Linked DNA regions of Homo sapiens: all the other regions are linked to region 1. Evidence: promoter capture Hi-C in 16 types of primary human blood cells and fetal thymus (Javierre and others, 2016). All regions are on one chromosome and are shown on one strand. Each heading gives the region's core, a stretch centred on a gene start or on the middle of the fragment in contact. The rest is flanking DNA. Distances are from core to core; before and after follow the strand shown. Region 1 holds the start of C4orf17 (chromosome 4 open reading frame 17). Region 2 overlaps LAMTOR3 (late endosomal/lysosomal adaptor, MAPK and MTOR activator 3). Region 3 overlaps DAPP1 (dual adaptor of phosphotyrosine and 3-phosphoinositides 1). Region 4 has its middle 9.8 kb from the start of DAPP1.

The links. Contacts are between HindIII fragments. The CHiCAGO score rates a contact against its expected background, and 5 or more counts as called.
Region 2: a fragment that was not itself captured here is called in contact with the fragment with the promoter of C4orf17 in region 1 in 1 of 17 cell types (activated CD4 T cells); the score reaches 5.4 in activated CD4 T cells.
Region 3: a contact is called between a fragment that was not itself captured here and the fragment with the promoter of C4orf17 in region 1, in 1 of 17 cell types (endothelial precursors). The highest score is 5.8, in endothelial precursors.
Region 4: a contact is called between a fragment that was not itself captured here and the fragment with the promoter of C4orf17 in region 1, in 1 of 17 cell types (endothelial precursors). The highest score is 5.4, in endothelial precursors.

What each region holds. Positions count from the first base shown.
Region 1 is chr4:99,509,708-99,512,296 of GRCh38, forward strand. C4orf17 (chromosome 4 open reading frame 17) reads left to right here and starts at 1,314. Exons shown (of 9, transcript NM_032149.3): 1 at 1,314-1,565. The HindIII fragment of the contact is 4,126 bases long and covers 446-2,589 here.
Region 2 is chr4:99,889,133-99,891,721 of GRCh38, forward strand. All of the region lies in intron 3 of LAMTOR3 (late endosomal/lysosomal adaptor, MAPK and MTOR activator 3), which reads right to left. Among named protein-coding and RNA genes, the nearest start is that of LAMTOR3, 4.0 kb to the right of the region's middle. The HindIII fragment of the contact is 538 bases long and covers 1,015-1,552 here.
Region 3 is chr4:99,826,822-99,829,410 of GRCh38, forward strand. The region is part of intron 1 of DAPP1 (dual adaptor of phosphotyrosine and 3-phosphoinositides 1); the gene reads left to right. Among named protein-coding and RNA genes, the nearest start is that of DAPP1, 11 kb to the left of the region's middle. The HindIII fragment of the contact is 163 bases long and covers 1,230-1,392 here.
Region 4 is chr4:99,805,703-99,808,291 of GRCh38, forward strand. No RefSeq gene overlaps it. Among named protein-coding and RNA genes, the nearest start is that of DAPP1, 9.8 kb to the right of the region's middle. The HindIII fragment of the contact is 2,352 bases long and covers 131-2,482 here.

The DNA of each region.
Region 1 (2,589 bases), core at 64-2,563:
CCTACCCAGAGTTAGGTATTAATGTCAGGATCTGTGGTTGAGATTGCTTTTTATAACCCGATTTATACTTTCTCCCTCTCTTGTTAGAGCCCCTGTTTTAGAATGGGGTGTCAATGTGCCCTGTTAAGAAACTACATTTTCTATCCTTTCTTGTAGCTATAAATCATCAATGCAACATAGATTATTGTCTGAGACTCATGAGAAGGCTCTTACAAAGAGAGCAGATAGCTAGCATGTGCCCTTGTCAGCCCTTACCTCCCCAACCTTCCTCTTGTTTCCTGCTTGGAGTACAGATTTGATATGTGCAAATATAGCAGCCATCTTGGATGACTGGAACTTCAGGAACCATCTTGAACAAGGGATAATTTCAAAAATGGAAGCCTAATATTAAGAAAGATGGACCTAAAACATAGATGAAGCCAAGGTCCATAATGATGCTTCATAAAGCTTCCATACCAACCCTAGATGGTTGAACTCTTCCATGTGAGGAAGAAATACACATCTATCTTACTTAGAACACTATTTCTGATCTCTGTTATTAGCTGTGTAATAAAGTTTCTCAACTGATACAAAGTGAAAACTAAAAATCTCAGAATACAAAAATTACCTTAGAAAGTCAATTAGATCTCCCATAAAATTCCCCATAAACTACAGTAAAACAGGGAGGCATAAGGCATAAGAATGGGTTATAGGCAAAGGCAATTAAACCTTTAATTCTTGGGCCAGTCAAGAAAACAGACAAATTAGGCTCTATCCTTGCATTGTTTTAAGCTAGTATTTGCCTTTCAGAAATTGTCTATATTGCTCTTAGAGATTGTAATTCAGAAATTCAAAATCATGTGTATTCTGAAAAGTCTTGTGAAGCACCGCATGTACATGTGTGTGTGTTTCTCTATGACTTCTAATTAACATTTCAATATTTTTTCATGGCTATTGAACATGTCATCAGCACAGACATCCTGACTACCAAAGCAGTATATTCCATTCACAACTATTAGAAACTCCTTAAAAGCATGTATACCTTCTCCCCGTTGGTTTTGGATTAAGCTATATTTGGTTATATCATAATTGTTCTTTAAGCAGAATTGTGGGAAAAATTATAAATTTGATTTATATTGCTCTCTGTTTTATTTTTCTTCTTTTTCTTTCTCTTGCATTGGATTTAACTCTATTATATGTCCAAAATTGAGGAAAGCCATTTGTGGCCACATGGTTTTGTCAAGTGGGTAACTGGAGGTCTGAGAAGAATAGTGGGTGAGAGGTTCTAGAACTTAGATTTTTCTAAGGAATGTTACCACGTTGCTAAGCTATGTAACATATCTTAACAACCAGGGAGCCACACAGGCTCCTTGGAGTAAGAGTGTGAGAAACTGGATGAAGACAGCTGTATTCTTTTGGAAGCGTTCGAGATTGGTCTGTCTCTACCAACTAAAAACTTCTAGCTTAAGTGCAGAGATTTAAGGAGATCAACAAAAACTCAGTCTAGACATATTATGAGGCTGGGAGGGTATCAACAGACTTGAGTTCTTGTCAGCAAGATCACCTGCTTTTAATATTGTCCTCAGGTATAATTTTAAATTCATCATTACAATAATGTTCTAAAATTTTAGGTATGATTTAGTTAATAGTCCTCAAGTTCATTCTTTTTTCAAGAGTATGTGAAAGCCAAATAAGTCTGTTTTAAGAAAATGAAATACACATTGTTTTCTTGTTGACTTTTTTTTTTTCAAAATTTAAAGTGTATCACTACCCTTTAATCTAAGAGAATTGATGTGGGACAGACACATACAGAATAACTGAATAATATCAGCTAACATTTAAGTCAATTTCATCAGGTAATAGACAAACAGACTGAAATCTAGGCAATAAAACAATTAATCTGTGGTCACTTTGCTGGTTAATGGCAAATCTGGGACCATGAATCCTATCTTTAAATTTCTGGTTTAATGTCTTTTTCACTCTCCAAATTGTCTGCTGTACTCTTTTCCCCTCAATACAAGTAAAAAGCAAATTTACTGGCTTAATTGTACAAAAGGTCCCACACCAAAAGAATGAGTAAGTCTAAAGTGTGATTTAAACAAAGAGATTAGAACTAGCTCCTCACTGTGATATTCATAAACAGCAATAAGAAAATATACTTTTTATTGCTAGATAGATATTTTCTGCATTTAATGTCTACATATATTTTACCCAACCTAGGATAATTTTAGTATTTATATATATCAAACTGAAGTTCCTGAAAACCAGATATTCTGTGGCAACAAGTCTGGGAATTTATACACCATACAGTCTAAGTATATAGCATGAAACACTTAAACATAGATTGCTTTGTTCTAAAAAGGTAGTCAACGATCTAAAAGCATCCATCCCAACAAAATCCTGAGATCAATTTCTAGAACATGAACATTTTTTGACACTGCAAATTATTCTAACCCAAAAAGTCTCTGCCATGGTTATAAATAAAATGTGTATTTCCCAATTCTGCTACGATGAATAAGATTTTCATGTAAGATAGAAAAAATACAACAAGCACCAGAAAATCATCCTTCTTAGATTTCAAAAGCATACTATTTTCAAGAAAATTTAAAT
Region 2 (2,589 bases), core at 34-2,533, 380 kb after region 1:
TTGCAGTGAGCCAAGATTGCGCCACTGCACTCCCAGCCTGGGTGACAGAACGAGAGTCTGTCTCAACAACAACAACAAAAAGATTAATACATAAAATAAATATATTCTTCTAAGTTAAAAACTAGGTTATATAAAACATATACTACAGATATTTGTACATAAGCCAATTATTTTGTGCAGTTACCAAAAGCAACATCATTTGAAACAGTAAAGCATTACAAATCCAACTGTCCATCAAGAAGGACAAGGTAAGTTATGATATACACCTACAAAGGAATACTCTGGAATACTCTGCAGCCATGAGAAAGAGGAAGTTCTCTATGTACCAGGAAAGATTACTCTCAAAGTTACATTCTTAAGTGAAAAAATACACAGTTTAGAACAGTGTATAGAAGAAGCAATAAATTATGTACCAAAATATGCAGGCATATGTGTATGTTGTGTGTATAAATACGTGTATATACATGTCTGCTCATAGGTACATAAAATATCTCTGTAGGTAATGGTGGGTGCCTCTTTGAGGGGAAACTGTGCATGTGGCTGGAGAGGAAGGATGGGCAGCTTCTCACTCTATGTTCTTCAGTTAAGTCTTGAATCTGAACTCTGTGAATGTACTACTTACCCCCAAAATAAATTAAAAAGCAGGTAAAAAGAGGACCACAAAAATGTTTAGAAAAATTAGTGCCACCACAGGTAGCTTCTTTTTTTAAATTTCCATGGAAATTACTTTAAATACAACTAATGCTCCAAAGAAAATAAAAGGACTTTCTTTTTGATGGACTTCACAGAGAAATGAATCAAGAAAGTAGAAAAATTACTTACACTCTTAAGTATATAATTTTAGAAATCAGGTCACAAATATAAAAGCTGTTTTCAATTCTACATACAATGCGCAAAGAGTAATATAAATAGAATTTACTAATAATTAAAAATAACTGGCTCATTAAGAGATACTACACTTTTAGAAGAAATGAATTAAATTTTGTGAAATATTCTGAAGAAATCTAAACCTTAAGCTTACTAAAACAACCATTTTTTTCTAAAAACAAATGTTGCATTACTAATCAAAGACATCGGATTTAGTTTTATACACATAATTATGAAATATTTGGTTGTTTTAAAACATACAAAGTGGGATTATTAAAGCCTGAGACTGCTTTGGGTCACAACCAGATTTTAAATTGCAAATACAAGAACGATATTTTGCAGAGAATTCAAAAAACGCACAAAAACACACATTCCATTAGTATCCGTAGCTGGCTGACTTTGTTACTGAGAGGCACTGAGGTACAACAGTTAAAAGCATGAATCCATGGCTCTGAAGCAGGATGCCTGCATCCAAACCCATACATCTAGCAACAAATCAAAGCGTATATTCTACTATTCTTCATAAATGTTCAAAACATTATTATTTCTTCATTATTACTGTTCTGGGATGCAATAAGCCTATTTTCAATAAATGATATAATGAGTTGAACTGGCTTTTTTTCATTATTAAAAAAAAAACTGACAGTACTAATACCTTTCCTGCCATTATGAAAGATTTTCATAAAGCTTTTAACAAATATCCTTTAACTGAATTTATTTCTTGGATAAGCACAACAACCTGATATTTCCCCTTTTGTTAAAAGATAAGAGACATCTAAATTCAAAGAAGAAGCAAGCATTTACTTTCCAACTATTTTTGATCAACATTAGAACTACTCAGTAATATAATAAATACTTTTGGTATTATTCTCTAATTCCTTTACACAGACAGCTTCATCATATCCAGTGTCACACGCTATTATGATTTTGAGAGCACACTTAATAGTTAAAATGAGATCCCCATTGTCTGAAACATTTTTATTGCTTATAATCACAGATGATGTAATTAGAATCAATTATTGCTTTATTAGATCTCCAGGTGACTAATGAGTATCTTTCTGGTCGGTTTATAACTTAAGAACATTGAATGCAATTTTGCTGTTTCTTCAATAAGAGATGCTAACACTCAAAAGAGGACTGTAAATCACTAAGACTTCTAAGTGAATTAACTATGTACTATTAACTATTTCATCATATCACCAGCGTAGTGGGGTATCTCTCCGTCCCAATTTGAGCGCCCTTTCATTACGCTAAGGTAACTACAGAAAAACACAGAAAGCCCTCATTTTGCATAGTTCCAATATGCACATTTTAGTTACTATGGTTAAGTAATACCACTCCCTGCAGAAGAGCACAGGTCAAATTTTAGTTAGCATGGCATAATACCTCAATAACTACGTAAAGTATAAACTTTTCTAACTCTTTAGTCCACAAATCACTACATAAATAATTATGTAATTAACAGATGCACACTGTCATCAGTAACCAGCCACATCATTTCTTTCAAAGTATGTTGATGGTTGGTCACTGTGCATCTGTTATGCAGCTCATGCAGAGATAGCAAAGCATGTAGTTTTGTACCTCCTTGTCTCCCAATGATAAAGTATGTGACATTTAGAAAAAGAGATAATAAAAAGAGGAAACTGGCCAACAAAGACGAAATACAGCAAAGAAATGAAAAGTAATAATGCTGAAATTTCAAATAGAAATGCTGAATTTCAA
Region 3 (2,589 bases), core at 61-2,560, 320 kb after region 1:
TCCATGAAGTTTTCCCTGATCATTCCAGCCCACTGTGAGCTCCCCTTCCTATGCTATAATATTTACTGTCCATATCACTAAGATAGCAGCTATTTGGTGATTCTTCTATGTTAACCTGCAGATCCTTCTCTTTTCCATTCTGTTGGTACTGAAAAGTCACTTAGTACTTTGCTTTGCCCTTCTCTTCAAATGCCAAATTCTGTGAACTCAAACTGTTCACATTATTGAAGTGAATTAAAGTTTTCAGGCCCAAGAGTCCTTCCCATACATGCTCCTCAAACTCTAAAGTGCATAACAATCACGTGGGACTTAGCAGGTTGAGGGAGGGGCCTGAGGTTGTGTGTGGTCCATGTTGGCTGCTCATTAGCAACTCTTTTCACTTGACACTTCCCAGTAGTAAAAAGTTTCTTATTGCACCTGATTTTAAAACCATCACTCTTGGCTGGGCGCGGTCTGTAATCTCAGCACTTTGGGAGGCTGAGGCGGGCGGATCACGAGGTCAGGAGATCGAGACCATCCTGGCTAACAAGGTGAAACCCCGTCTCTACTAAAAATACAAAAATTAGCCAGGTGTGGTGGTGGGCACTTGTAGTCCCAGCTACTCGGGAGGCTGAGGCAGGAGAATGGCGTGAACCCGGGAGGCAGAGCTTGCAGTGAGCCGAGATCGAGCCACTGCACTCCAGCCTGGGCAACAGAGTCAGACTACGTCTCAAAAAAAAAACAACAAAAAAACAAAACAAAAAACACCATCACACTTATAAGTGCAGATGAAGGAAATGACCTAATTGGAAGTTTTAATCAACAGTAAGTCCAGTGTGAATCAGCTATGTGATGCAATTGTGAAGAAACTAATGCATTCTCGGGCTGCCTTATGTGTGCCCAGCAGCCAGAATAAGGGAGCTCCTGTGCTGCTTTGTTTTGCAGGTCAGAGTTTAACGTTAAGACAGATTTTTTAAGTTTGAAAGGTTTTCAGATGAGATGAGTTCTTTGGGTGATAAGGTCCCTGGATGATAAAGGAACTGAAAGCCTGTCATAAAAGGAAAAGCTGAAGATGATGGAAAGAGAAGAAGGTGCATTCTAAATGCTTTCAACTCTTTCTATAAGTATCATCTATGTAACTCCAAGAAGTAGCTCTGAAACCATCTGCTGAAAGCCATCTACACAGCAAAAAATGGCAATTCATTGTAGCCCAAGAGTTTTCTAACCATGAATCATGAACATATGGATTAAGCTTGCCTATACAAGTACTGAGTTCCCCATCATTAGCAATATGTAGGCAAAGATTGGATAAGAGTACTATAGAGTTTAGAAATTATTCAAACACTGTTGTTGTGCATTTCTGACAAGATCCCAGGTGATGCTGATGCTGTTGGTCCATACTTTAAGTAGCAAAGCTTTGCACTGTGGTTTAAACATCAGGTACAACCCGTTAGTAGGCTTAAAGTGAATTTAATGGGTCACATCAATATTCATTCAAAATAAAGAGAAAACAATATATTCAAGTTAATAGCCTATAGAAAGATAGGTGTTACGTCCTGTAACTTTTTGTTTTTTGTGCGTCTTTGTGACATATGTATGTTTATATATATACAGAGTGATATAAAATGTATTTTGTACTGTGAGTCAATTCAAAAAATTTAAAAGCCTCTCCTTTAAAGAACAGAACAAATGAGGTATAAAGTTAGATTAGTAAATTAAAACAGTAAAACCCAGTGGGATAAGAAACTATGAAGGTTCCACTATTCTGGAGCAATTTTCCAGAAGATTCTAGCTCAAAGAGGCCCCAGAATGAAAGGAAAGGAAGCTGAACCGAGGACCAGCTTTCTGGATCCAGCCTGTCCACATTCTCTGTGGCTGAGTTTATTTTCTGTATCTTACTAAGAGGCAGCTATGAAAATTCTTTAGTGGGTGGTGTTTCCTAGTTTTTTACTGTATCATGGAAAGGATAATATCACTGTTTCCTTCAAGTTGAATTGCTGGTTTTCATAATCTTATAAACCCAGTACAAATATTCTTTTGGAGCTTGATTAGTCTTTTCTCTGTTGACTTTATCAGACTTGAGACATAATTATGGCAATGTGTGGGCCTTGGGGAAAATGGAGACTATTAACATTCTTTCTAATAGGAGTTTCTTGCTCTTTTTTGCTTCTTCAGGGAAAATGAGACTAGAAGAATTTTTTTTTTAAGTTTCAAAAAATGAACCTATTCCCAACTGCATAACAGTGTGTTCCTACCACTTTGCAAATGTCTAGCATATCCATAATACATTGTTTAATTTAGCAAATCTAGTTTTTTTTCTGTAAAAGTTAAAGAATTGCATAAAAAATTTATAAAAGAAGAAAATTTTTCCAATACATGAAAATAAGAAGGTTCTCTGGCCAGGCGCAGTGACTCATGCCTGCAATCCCAACACTTTGGGAGGCTGAGGTTGGCAGATCACCTGAGGTCAGGAGTTTGAGACCAGCCTGGCCAATATGGTGAAACCCTGTCTCTATTAAAAATACAAAAATTTGCCAGGTGTGGTGGTGCACACCTGTAGTCCCACCTACTCAGAAGGCTGAGGCAGGAGAATTGCTTGAACCCGGGAGG
Region 4 (2,589 bases), core at 57-2,556, 300 kb after region 1:
GGCTGGAGTGCAATGGTGCAACCGTAGCTCACTGCAGCCTCAAACTCCTTGGCTAACATGATCCTACTGCCTCAGCCACTGAGCAGCAGGAACTATAGGCATGTGCCACCATACCTGGCTAATTTTTTAAAGCTTTTTCTAGAGGCAGGCTGTCTTTGCTATTTTGCTCAGGCTGGTCTTGAATTCCTTGCTTCAAGCAATCCTCCCACGTTGGGCTCCCAAACTGCTAGGATTGCAGGCATAAGCCACCATGCTTGGCTATGTCTGCTATTTAATGTTAAGTTTTTATGTAAGCTGTGTTATAATGCAAACTTTCCTCCATTTCTCTAAGCAAAACTTTAGTCAAGTCTGCTATCCTTGACCGTTTGACAAGACAGCTGCACTTAGAGGCACCATGTCTACTGTTTGGTCAGGTGGTACAGAGAGAAGAGAACAACCTCACAAGGCACGCTGGCTGACTGGCTCAGTGGCTTAGATGTCAATGGAAGCAGGAAGTAAGAGGAACAGAAACTATGATATTGTAAGCCCCCAGAATTCATGGAAATCTCACTGGATTGTCAGATCACTGGATTGGCCACAGCATGTGAGATAGGGAAGCCTGGAGGGGATATTCTTTTCATTAATTAAAGGAAAGGGTTAGGGGACTTGGATTCCCTCAACCCAACAGGCTGAGGTGACTTGGATCACTTAGGAAGCAATAACACTACTGAGCATCATCATGCCCTTTCCTTCCAGGACACAAAATCTTGCTAGAGAGTAGGCAAGATTAGGTTGAGTTAAGGCCAAGAACAACCACCAAGACCTGCCTGCCCTTGGCCCTGAAGCCGTGAATCCTCACCTATAAGGATTCTTCCTCCCAGGGACTCCCTTTTTTACTCCCAGAAGTCCAGCTCCATCCCTTTCCTATTTGCCCTTGTCTGTCAGACTGGTTTGTATCCTAAGCCTGGATCAAGTTAAGTCCCCCACCATGGGACCTCTGGTCATCTGGATCATCAGTGTCATCGAGCAACCTATTACCCTAAGAAGGCCTTGTTTGCTGAGAGCACTTGGAGGATCTCCACAGGGAGCCGCCAACTCCTGATGCCAGCATAGCTGAGTCTCAGCTGAGCTGCAGCCAAGAGTTACTGAGACAAAAGAGTTTGAGGTTACTTAGTTGATACCTCCAAGCCCGAAAACCTTTCTTGGTTTTGGAAGTCCTTCTTTTTCTCCTTACACAGCCCATTGCTCGTGAGCACACACAGATGGTCCAAGGAATGACAGGCTTCTTTTGTGATGGGTGTTGACTGACACAAACGTGGATAGCTTATTAGGTCACAAGGTACCATCTTTTCTTGGCACAGGCTTATGGCACTCGTTATTGCCCCAGGAGCCCACAGACCCGTCACCACATTACTTTTGGTCTGCAGGCTCTTCCACAGACTCGGGTGCTCTTCAACCTTTGCCGAACATCAGAATCACCTGGGGCAACTGTCCAAGATGCAGGCCCCAGGGCCCTGTGCCTTGGGGATTTTGAGGCTGGTGGTGCACAGCCTGTCCTGGGAGAAGCCCTGCTGCAGCCCTTAGCTTTCAGCTTCCAGTGTGTCACCTCCATGCTCCCCACCCTCCAGGGTCTTCTGAAGCCTTTATTTTTGCTCTGATGTGGCCCCCTTCAGGGCCAGGTTTATCCTTTTTGCTTCGGGTGGATTACTGGTTCAGTCACCTATCACACCATCCTGTCAGTACTCTCTTTTATAGTTCTCCTGCTCTCTTCACATTTTTTTTTTAACCACTCATAGTTCCTCATAATTTTGCTCTTCCTCCTGCTTCCATCCCCCACCTAACCTTCTGGATAAAATTCACTTTGTGTCTGGGCACAATGACGGATGCCTGTAATCCCAGCACTTTGAGAGACTGAGGCAGGAGGATCACTTAAGGCCAGGAGTTCAACACCAACCTGGACAACACAGTGAGACCCCCATCTCAAAAAAAATCATCTCTATAATGTCTCCTTTAGATAGACAGAACAAAAACATTTACATGTTAAGAGAAACTTCTCTTTACCACCCTTAAAATATTTAAAATACCAAAGATCTCATATTTATATGATTAACAGAGAAAACTCAGACCCATGGGCCACCCAGGAACAGTGACAAAATCTACTTCAAAGTTGTTGCTGTGGCTGAGTCACTGTCTCTGTAATCGGGGAGCTGTTCCCAAGCTGCCTTCACTGTAACGCTGAGAACCCTGAAGAATTTTCACTATTTCCAGTCACCGTTACTGTGACAGGGCTCTACGTTAGCAGTTTTAGAGTCACCTACATTCCTTATTTTAAATGAAAATTGAAATGCTTTGAAGATTTATATTTACCAAATGAGCTGAGGAAAAAGTAAGTGCTTAAAATATATTGCAATTGCAGAAATGAAAATCATTTTTAGGTATAAAATTGAATTTTTAGATTTCAATCACTTCCTACTCATTTAAATTCTTTCAGTAAAGGTCTCAAAGCTTTAAAGGGAAAAGAGAGCAGAACTAAGAATTGAACCATTTAAAACTTGGTGAGACAGGTAATAAATTATACCTGAATCATTTAATGGTTTAGTAGTCTGGCGT